Regions from separate parts of the Homo sapiens genome. Here region 1 is linked to region 2. The links are contacts of gene promoters, found by promoter capture Hi-C in human tissues and cell types (Jung and others, 2019). All regions are on one chromosome and are shown on one strand. Each heading gives the region's core, a stretch centred on a gene start or on the middle of the fragment in contact. The rest is flanking DNA. Distances are from core to core; before and after follow the strand shown.

What was found. The method cuts DNA at HindIII sites, captures the fragments that hold promoters and counts their contacts. A contact is called where the count stands out against the background at its distance.
Region 1: a fragment that was not itself captured here is called in contact with the fragment with the promoter of KBTBD3 in region 2 in 1 of the 25 tissues and cell types used here (dorsolateral prefrontal cortex).

What each region holds. Positions count from the first base shown.
Region 1 is chr11:104,612,812-104,617,583 of GRCh38, forward strand. No RefSeq gene overlaps it. Among named protein-coding and RNA genes, the nearest start is that of LINC02552, 5.9 kb to the left of the region's middle. The HindIII fragment of the contact is 8,478 bases long and covers 1-4,772 here.
Region 2 is chr11:106,074,984-106,080,149 of GRCh38, forward strand. KBTBD3 (kelch repeat and BTB domain containing 3) reads right to left here and starts at 2,364. Exons shown (of 4, transcript NM_198439.3): 1 at 2,329-2,364; 2 at 1,524-1,724. It overlaps AASDHPPT (aminoadipate-semialdehyde dehydrogenase-phosphopantetheinyl transferase), which reads left to right and starts at 2,679. Exons shown (of 6, transcript NM_015423.3): 1 at 2,679-2,910; 2 at 4,484-4,709. The coding sequence starts at 2,728. RefSeq lists enhancers at 2,157-2,276, 2,287-2,396, 2,707-2,946. The HindIII fragment of the contact is 12,921 bases long and covers 1-5,028 here.

The DNA.
Region 1 (4,772 bases), core at 2,242-4,741, 1.5 Mb before region 2:
ATTATTTAAAGGAAGGAAAATAATAAATGCTGAAAAGAAAGCAACTCCAGGGAAAAATTCCCAGCTGTTTTCTTGATTCTATACATATATAGAGTGGATAAGTTCAAGGAGGCTGAACAAAGAGAGAGAATGCATTTCAATATTCCTAATGCAGGTTCAGCAAAAAGGGATATATGTAAGGAGCTATTAAGTTCATCAATAAAGTGATCTAGTCTTATAAACAAGGTCATATCAAGTTTTTTGAGTCTGTTCACTGTTAGAGCACTCGTTTATGTATTCTGTAGTACTTAAGGTTGAGGTAGTTTTATATTTAAGTTATATGTAAAGAACTTCTACTCATTCTTTAAGAGTTGGCCAAGTATTCTTTCTGTGAATACTTAACTGAAACCCCTTATATCAGTCACAAGTATACTTCATGCATATACTAATTTGTACACTTTTCAGAGTCTGTTGTAATTATGTTTGTGTTTCTGTCTTCCCTACTTAGCTTTGAGCTGTTAGATGACATGGTTTATTCATTTTATCTAGGATATGGCACAACTGGGTATAATGCTCAACTAATATTTGGTTAAAAAATAAATATATAATTTAACATTTTTCTTTCTTTACCCATTCATCAAGTAAAATCTCAACAATTTTATGTAGAAAAAACTCAGATGATTTAATACATGTAAATCTGTGACAATAACAGCTTGTATTGAATACTTATTAGGTATCAATGATATTCTTTGCATATGTTATTCATTACGTTCTTACATTAAACTTGTTTGGTAGATGTTATTCTTTCCTTTACATAGATATAAGCCTACGGCTCAATAAATTAACATATACTGCATGTCAGAAATTGGTGTAACTTGGATTTAGCTTATGCACTGTCTTGTTTAAGTGCCCATACATTTTCTATAGCTCCTAAAATTTTAACTCTTTTGAAACTGTGTAAGGAGGGGGAAAAATGCACAATGAATAAAAGCTTTCACTCTGACACCAGTAAGAAAGGTGAAAAACTCACCTGAATGAAGAATCAGATGTGAAACTGGAAGCTCATCTTATCTATAAAGGGAGCTTAAAATACTCAACTAATATAGAAAGGGCATTTGTAGCTTGTTATTACAGATTTATGTTTCTTCTTTTTGTGTAGCTGTTAAGTACTCATGTTCACATTGTGATGTCACTCAGGAGAGTTGATCTATTACTTCAAGTATAAAAAACAGAATGAGGGTCCATTAAAATTTCCAGGAATATACTAATAAGAAAATTTGTGAAATAATTTTTCTTTCTCAGATACTTTGCAAAATATTGACCCCATATATATATATATATACCTTATATACTATATATAGAGAGTCAGTATTTTGCAAAGTATCCGAGAAAGAAAAAAATATATATTTTATATATATATATATACACACACACATATATATAATATATAGACACACTCATATATTACACACTATGGGTATATAGAGTATGTGTATTATATCTGTATACATATATCTATAATACATAGTGTTTAGTAGAAATGAAACTCCTCAACAGGTTAGAATATGCAACTGGAAACTGAAAACAAAGTGTGAAAACTGAAGCTGCTTAGTTTCTTCCCTAGAAATCATGTTGGAGTTGACTTCTTGGGATTTATTTCAAAAATGACTGTTTGAGAAGAAAACCAAAGGTTTTGTGAGTCTTTTGCATGACTGCATTTGTACAATATCTGCAGTCAGGCCATATCTGAACTAGGTTCAATGACAGCTTTGTGAAGCAGTTATACCAATATCTGGCCCTTTAGGAACTCCCATAAGGTATTCCTTGTGCTTTTAGGGGATCCTCAGAGTGACCTCTCACTCAGAGACATTTGTTCTTGCTCAAAGACTTTTATCTAGATTTGCCTTTCAGTGATTTCTTCTCTCTCAGGGTAAGATAGCCAAGCTCTCATTTGATTTTGGGTCTCAAAATGTCTAATCATATATTAATTAGTACCTGATTCACAACTAATTTTGTAAGATTCAAACTTTTTAATGCCTGAGCATTTCTTTCTGAAAAACATGGTAAAATTTATTTACACTTATTAAGTTGTTGACTTTTTTAATCTTTGTACTCTGATAAAGAAGCTTTCTTGTTTGTTTAACATGATTCTAGTTTAGCACAATGGAAATGGAAGGGAGAGCCAAAGCATTAGGAACTGGCAAGGAGGTTGTTTCTATAGTAAATTTGGAAACTTCTATATCATTGCATTTCTAGTTGTTTTGATAGAAGAAAAAGTAGATATTAGAGGGTTGCAGGAAGCCAGATTAGCCACTCTTCTAAGATAGTGACTCTACTCATGTGGAATGGGTGAATTTACTTATCTGGATATAACGGCTCCACATATTGTGTCCCTAACATGAAGATAAGCCTCCTTGGCTTCTGCCACATCTTCACTGCTGCTCTATTAGTATATTACTCCAAATGTAAAATCTTGTGTCATTGCTCCAGGTTGAAGTGCACTGCAAATTAGTATTGGAGTCAAAGGGGCAGGGAAAAAAGAAATTAAGTGTTGAGAAGGAAGGCAAATACAGGGTGGAAGCGTAGCATAGGCTAAATTTTGAGAAATGTGAAATTGAAATGAGAGAAGTTCCCTTATCCCCCTGGCAGGGCGTGTGACCTGGGTGTGGCTGGCTTCTTCCATGCCCAGATGCTCAAACCCCTAGGGTGAGCATGCAGACGGGCAGGTGCATAGATCATGAGGAGCATTTTGGGGCTCTGGCCCCACAGCAGCTTATAGGGGTGAGTGTTTACAACTCTTAAAGCCCAAGTGGGCATATGTTACAGTGTGCTTTCGGCTTTGCCGTCTGCAGATGGCTTGTGTTAATCAACTTAATTAGACCCTCTGCCTTATCTGAAGAAAGGGGGCCAAGTGTGACAACCTGGGTTCTTGCCCAGTGTACTGGAAGAATCAGAGCACATGTGGGCTGCAAGGATGAGTGCAAGGTTTATTGAGTGGTGCAGGTGGCTCTCAGTGAGATGGATGGGGAGCTGAAGATGAGGATGGAGTGACAAGGTGATCTTCCCCTGAAGTAGGGCTGCCCAGCGACCGAAGTCTTCTCCGACCACCCTTGGCTGAACTCTCCTCAGCGTCCATAAGTCCTTCCTCCTCTTTCTTTTCTTTTCTTTTCTTTTCTTTTCTTTTCTTTTCTTTTCTTTTCTTTTCTTTTCTTTTCTTTCTTTCTTTCTTTCTTTCTTTCTTTCTTTCTTTCTTTCTTTCTTTCTTTCTTTCTTTCTGTGTGTGTTTTAATTACACTTTAAGTTCTGGGATACATTGGCACAATGTGAAGATTTGTTACATAGGTATACATATGCCGTGGTGGTTTGCTGCACCTATCAACCCATCATCTACATTAGATATTTCTCCTAATGCTATCCCTCCTCTAGCCCCCCACCCCCCAACAGGCCCCATTGTGTGATGTTCCCCTCCCTGTGTTCATATGTTATCACTGTTTAACTCCCATTTATGAGTGAGAACATGTGGTGTTTGGTTTTCTGTTCCTGTGTTAGTTTGCTAAGAATGATGGTTTCTAGCTTCATCCATGTCCCTGAAAAGGACATGAACTCATCCATTTTTATGGCTGCATAATATTCCATGGTGTATATGTGCCACATTTTCTTTATCCAGTCTATCATTCATGGGCATTTGGGTTGGTTCCAAGTCTTTGCTATTGTGAATAGTACTGCAATAAACATACATGTGCATGTGTCTTCACAGTAGCATGATTTATAATCCTTAAACTGGCTAGCCATATGCAGAAAACTGAAACTGGACCCCTTCCTCACACCTTATACAAAAATTAACTCAAGATGGATTAAAGACTTTAAAGACTTAAACCTAAGACCTAAAACTATAAAAGCTCTAGAAGAAAACCTAGGCAATACCATTCAAGACATAGGCATGGGCAAAGACTTCATGACTAAAACACCAAAAGCAATGGCAACAAAAGCCAAAATTGACAAATGGGGTCTAATTAAACTAAAGAACTTCTGCACAGCAAAAGAAACTATCATCAGAGTGAACAAGCAACATACAGAATGGTAGAAAATTTTTGCAATCTATCCGTCTGACAAAGGGCTAATATCCAGAATCTATGAGAAACTTAAATTTACAAGATAAAAACAAGCAACCCCATCAAAAAGTGAGTGAAGGATATGAACAGACACTTCTCAAAAGAAGACATTTATGCATCCAACAAACATAGGAAAAAAGCTCATCATCACTGGTCATTAGAGAAATGCAAATCAAAACCACAATGAGATACCATCTCACACCAGATAGAAAGGCAATCATTAAAAAGTCAAGAAACAACAGATGCTGGAGAGGATTTGGAGAAATAGGAACTCTTTTACACTGTTGGTGGGAGTGTAAATTAGTTCAACCATTGTGGAAGACAGTGTGGCAATTCCTCAAGGACCTAGAACCAGAAATAACCATTTGACCTAGCAATCCCATTACTGGGTATATACCTCTCTTCTCTTTCTCTGCCATGCCACCCTGCCACACTCTTCACTGCTCTCCACTGCTCTGTTCCTCTGCTCCTCTCATTGCTCAGCTGCTTGTGTCTGTGCCTGCTTAAAGTCTCTGGTTTAAATGGGCACAGGATCGGGGGTGTAGTAGGCCAAAAGGCAACCTTCTGGGTACGAAAACAGAAATGTCTGTCCTCACTTAGCTCTATGGGCATAGGCTCAAGGGTGGAGTCCTCACCAAAGACCCCACACTTCTCTACCAGCACTTCGCTGCCCGCTTCCCA
Region 2 (5,166 bases), core at 1,114-3,613:
AACACCTAGACTTAGAGATGATCTCATCCGATGCCTTTCCATTGAAATTAATACATGGAAGAGGTTATGTCACACATAGGATCCTGTGTGACCAATGTCACACAGACAATTGGTGGTAGAGCTGGAAATAGAATACGAGTCCCTCAGAATCCTGCTAAGAAGCCACAGATCAGCACCAAGCAAGATGATCATTACAGACTGAGTGAGCCCCTATTACTTTAGTCCTCTTCTTCCCCTGACCAATGCAGTAAAAAATATTTTAATAAAATTGTTGGGTTCATTTAATATAGTTAAGCAAGTTATGAACTGCATATTTATATTTCCTTAATAAAAGTGAGGGAAGTAAAGGCAGATAGAATATAAAAAGCAGTGTTACCCTTGACAGTAATAAATCTATTGTGGAGTCATTAATAACATTTACTCATGTATACTATTTGTAAAAGGTATACATGACATTCCCTCTCAAGTACTGTACATTCTATTTTGCAAGATAACACACATGAAAATAATTCAGGACAATAGGAGAGACGTCATAAGGCAATACTAGAATAACTGCCAAATGAATTACATAAACAATACTGTTTTGGAAAAAGGTACTCTGAAGTAGGCCCTAAGAGAAGGTTTAAGCTAAGCTCTGGAGAATTTGTAAAACCACACAGGGAAGGGGATTAAACAAACCTATAAAATATGTTCACAGGGTGATAGGTTTGGGGCTGAGGTTTGGAAGTGGAGAGAGTAAGCTATTTTAGACTAGGTGAACAGAGACATTCTGTTTGGTATGAGATTTGGGCCTGAATGATACAGAGGAAACAAGGAATGTGATAATGGGAGAAGGGGAGAATATTCTAGATTCTAGACCAAGTACAAATAATCCCTACGTTACTGTCTGTGTATTAGGCTCCATAGATCTAATACACAGAGATCTTGCTCGATGGTAAAATAATGGGATATGAATTCCTGAATTTAAACAAATTCTCTTTCTGAGCTCATTGTCTCCATCAGTAATAACTAGTGCACAGAACATGTGCAATAACGTACACAGAAGTGTTTTGGAAACAGAAACGTAATGTATCAAAGTTATAAAAATCAGTTTAAAACGACAAGAAGGAAAGGTTATATGATTCTTAGTTAAAAATGGAGAAGTGAGTTATGATCATTGCTGATATGGGTATTAGTATCACTTACGTATCTTTACACTGTCTCTTATTGTACTTTTTATGCGTATGATTTATTTGCCTTACCAGATTGTAAGCTCCCTGCAGCTGGTAAGCAGATTTTCAACATGGCAGCTGACACAGGCTTTTGGTTAGCTAAGATGATATATTAAGCCAATAATTCGTTTTACTGTCCTTTGGGGATCTGAATTTGTGTGTGTGTGTGCTCAGAATCCCATCTACTTTCGAGGGATTCGGGGGGCTTATGATATCACGAAAAGTTAATGAAGACAAGTATAGATAAAAACATAATAGAACCCATCTTAAATAGGACAGAAATCATAGGCAGGTAATTGTGTTAATTACTACCGCTGGCCTTTGGCTGATATTTCCGGGCAGTCAGAGGAAGAAGGAAATCGGCTGAATCCCGCAGTACCGCACTTTAATCGACCTCCAGGTAGTCATTTACAGTCATCTGCAGAGACCAACTTTTCCCTGGACCAAAACCTGCAGGGCACTTGGATCGCGTGGGCTTTCATACGAGAGTCAACAACAGCCTACACGGAACAACTAAGGAAACAGACATACATCAATATGACCCTTCGCAAAGTCTGAGAAAATAACTGAGCAAAGTTATTTACTTGTTTCTGTTGCTGTTAGAGCAAGGACCTCTGTCATGATGGAAACACTGATACCTCAACAATGGAATCCTGTTTTCTCGCTAGTGCTCTAGCCCAGGCTTGGCAATAGCAAAACAGCACCTGGGTCGCTTCATCGCCCCAAATAAACAGCCAGCATTAGCTCAGCTGCTCGCTGGCAGCCTCGGATCCAGGCGGGGTCAGTGTTGCGCACTGGGGATAGTGCCTCTGCTCGGCCTTCGGAGGGAGGGTTTCAGGTAGGCTGCTGCTAAGGGTCGGGAGCGTACTGTGTGAGGGTGGGTCTTAGGCTGATGCGGATGGGGGCAGGGAAAGAAGGAACTCAGGGCTGATGCGTTGCACAACTGCAGGGGGCACCACTGCAGACCCCCTCCTAGAGATGGAAACCTCTCGTGCCCCGTACACGAAGCAGCTGAAGCCAAGGACATTCTCTTCTCTGTGGGTCACAGGGGCCAACTCAGACCCTGAGAATAAGGGCTACCATCCCACTCCTCCCTCAGACCCCGGAGCTCACCCACCTGCAACTGCAGTCTCCGAAGTCTCCACCCCAGTCTCCCTGCCTCCAGAGGACTGGTTGCGATTGGCCTGCACCGCTGTCCCGTTAACTCTTCCGCAAGTGTGAGTGGCGTAACTGTCGGGCTCTTGGCCTTGGTCCCGCCCTTCGCTCGCCTCCGAAGCCTCGCCTACTTGACGTCATACAATGCCGCAAAGCGCAGGGCTGATCTCCGTCTCCGCCCCCAGCTGCTTTCTCCGAGAGGAGGTGGCTGAGTCGGGGGCGGGCTGGGAGGGCTGTCGGTGGGCCAGTCTGCGTAGCGACGGCCCGTCCCCTGCGCACGGACGCCGGGAAGAAGGGGGTGGGGCCACGTTTGCGTCCGCGCCATCAGGCCCGAGATAGCGGCGAGGTCCGCTTTCAGTGTATGGTTTTCCCTGCCAAACGGTTCTGCTTGGTGCCATCCATGGAGGGCGTGCGCTGGGCCTTTTCCTGCGGCACTTGGCTGCCGAGCCGAGCCGAATGGCTGCTGGCAGTGCGATCGATTCAGCCCGAGGAGAAGGAGCGCATTGGCCAGTTCGTCTTTGCCCGGGACGCTAAGGCAGCCATGGTACTACAGGTCTTTTTTGGTATTTAGAGCCTAGGAAGCAGATCTTGGGGGAGGCGGGCCGGGCTGTGGAGACCCGACACTCCCGCGCTGGCCGCGACCCTCTCGCTGTGGAGCCTGTGGCCGGCCCGGGCGACAGCAGCCGGCGCTGCGGAGTTGTGGGCGACGCACGGCCTGGTTTCCACGGCCTTTGTAACCGCCTTGGAGGCCGCGATGGCTGTAAACATTATCTCTTTCCCCTTGTTATTTCAAATGGAGACCCTCCTAAACCATGAAATAAGTGTAGGGAAGGCCGACAAAATTGGGTTTTTCTGTAATGAATGTTTTTATGTCTTTATCTTTAAATGTTATTTTTTTTTGTTTGTGTGCGTTCATAGCCTATGCTTATTCTGCCTGTTAAATATCCCATCATTCTCCAAGGACTCCCTGCACGTGGTAGGCCCTAGAAATTATTGACAGTATGATTTAGTTTGTAGCCCTGCGCTCCCCGGGATTGAAGCCAATGAAATTGAAGCCAGAGAGGATACCTTCCTCACTAGATGCCATGGGAAACAGTATTTTACGTAGATTTATTTATTTTAGCTATGTATTTTGAAGCAACAAATGGAAAACTGGATTTCAAAACAAGTAATCTGTACAATATGGTGCAATTTGAAACAACCGTGAATTACCATCATTTAAAAGACAGTCCTTTCTTAAAAATGTCCCATATTGAAACACTTTCTGTTTGAAATGTAGACTAGTTGATAATTTTTAAGGCACATTGGTGAAAATTTTTTACTCATTTGTAAGGAATTGTAAAATAAGCTACATTTAAAAGCCTGCAGTTTTTAAAAGTCAGTGTTAGAATTGAAGAAGAAAAAAACCTGAAAGATATTTTTAAAAATATATACTTTGTCATCTTATATTCTTGTTTTTTTGTGTGTGTGTTTTTAGTAATTATTTAAAAAATAATAATTGGAGGTGGGAGAGAGCAGAACAAGATAGGTCATGCCTTGCTAATTGTTGAAGCTGGGTGATCAATATATGGGATCTAGAAATACATATGCACAGATGTAGGTACAGTAGGGTTGCTCACTGCAGAGTTGTTTTTGACAGCAAGTCTAGAGCCAGCCTAAAATGTCCAATAAAGGGGAAATAATATTATGAAATATGCTACAGTTAAAACTGCATGGACCAGACGTGTGTGTACAGACATAAAATACTTCCCAATACTTATAAATTTAAAGCTTATATGTGGTAGAATACTGCATAAGTATAATCTCATGTTTGTGTTTATATGTAGAGTTAGCAAAAACATGTAAATGCACATATATTTAAATACAGAAAAGACTGACAGGATGCCAGCTGTTAACTTTGGTCACTAGCAAAGGAGAGGGAATTGCTAAGGCGGGCTTTAACTTTTTATCTACTTAAGCATTGCTTAAGTCTTAATTAACGTGTGTTTAATACTTAAGTATTTTGAAAAGTTTTAAAAATGAAAATTTTAGAAACCAAAAAAAAGTACTATTGCATACAGTGTGCTTGTATCTTTAGTAGACATCAGTACATACCAAATGTTTTATGTACTTAACAGGCTGGTCGTCTGATGATAAGGAAATTAGTTGCAGAGAAATTGAATATCCCTTGGAATCATATTCGTTTGCAAAGAACTGCAAAAGGAAAACCAGTTCTTGCAAAGGACTCATCGAATCCTTACCCGAATTTCAACTTTAACATCTCTCATCAAGGAGACTATGCAGTGCTTGCTGCTGAACCTGAGCTGCAAGTTGGAATTGATATAATGAAGACTAGTTTTCCAGGTAACGTTGCATTTTTCTAGTATGGCAGTTAAGTGTCTCGATGCCTCAGTTCTATTGCTATTGAGTAATCTCAGGCCAGGAGATGTATTAGAGATATTTCAGTTTAGGGAAAATGTGCTTAGTACACAAAGGTAATGGAGAGCATAAATCTGAAAAGGGTATATTTCCATGAATATTTACAGACTTACACATAAATAATAGATTATCCGTTACTGGGGATCCATAACTTTGCCTAGAGGTAAAGTGAAATATTAAGTGAAATTTTTTTTGAATTATACTTCAATTTATTTCACTTAAACATTAACCACAATTTTTCAGTTAATTGTTTGTTTTTTAAAAAAGAATCTGAATAGTAAAGTACATTGTAGTCCTTATGTAGAGATAACGTATACAGTTGACACATGAACAACACAAGTTTGAACTGCATGGGTCTACTCATGTGAATTTTTTTCAGTAG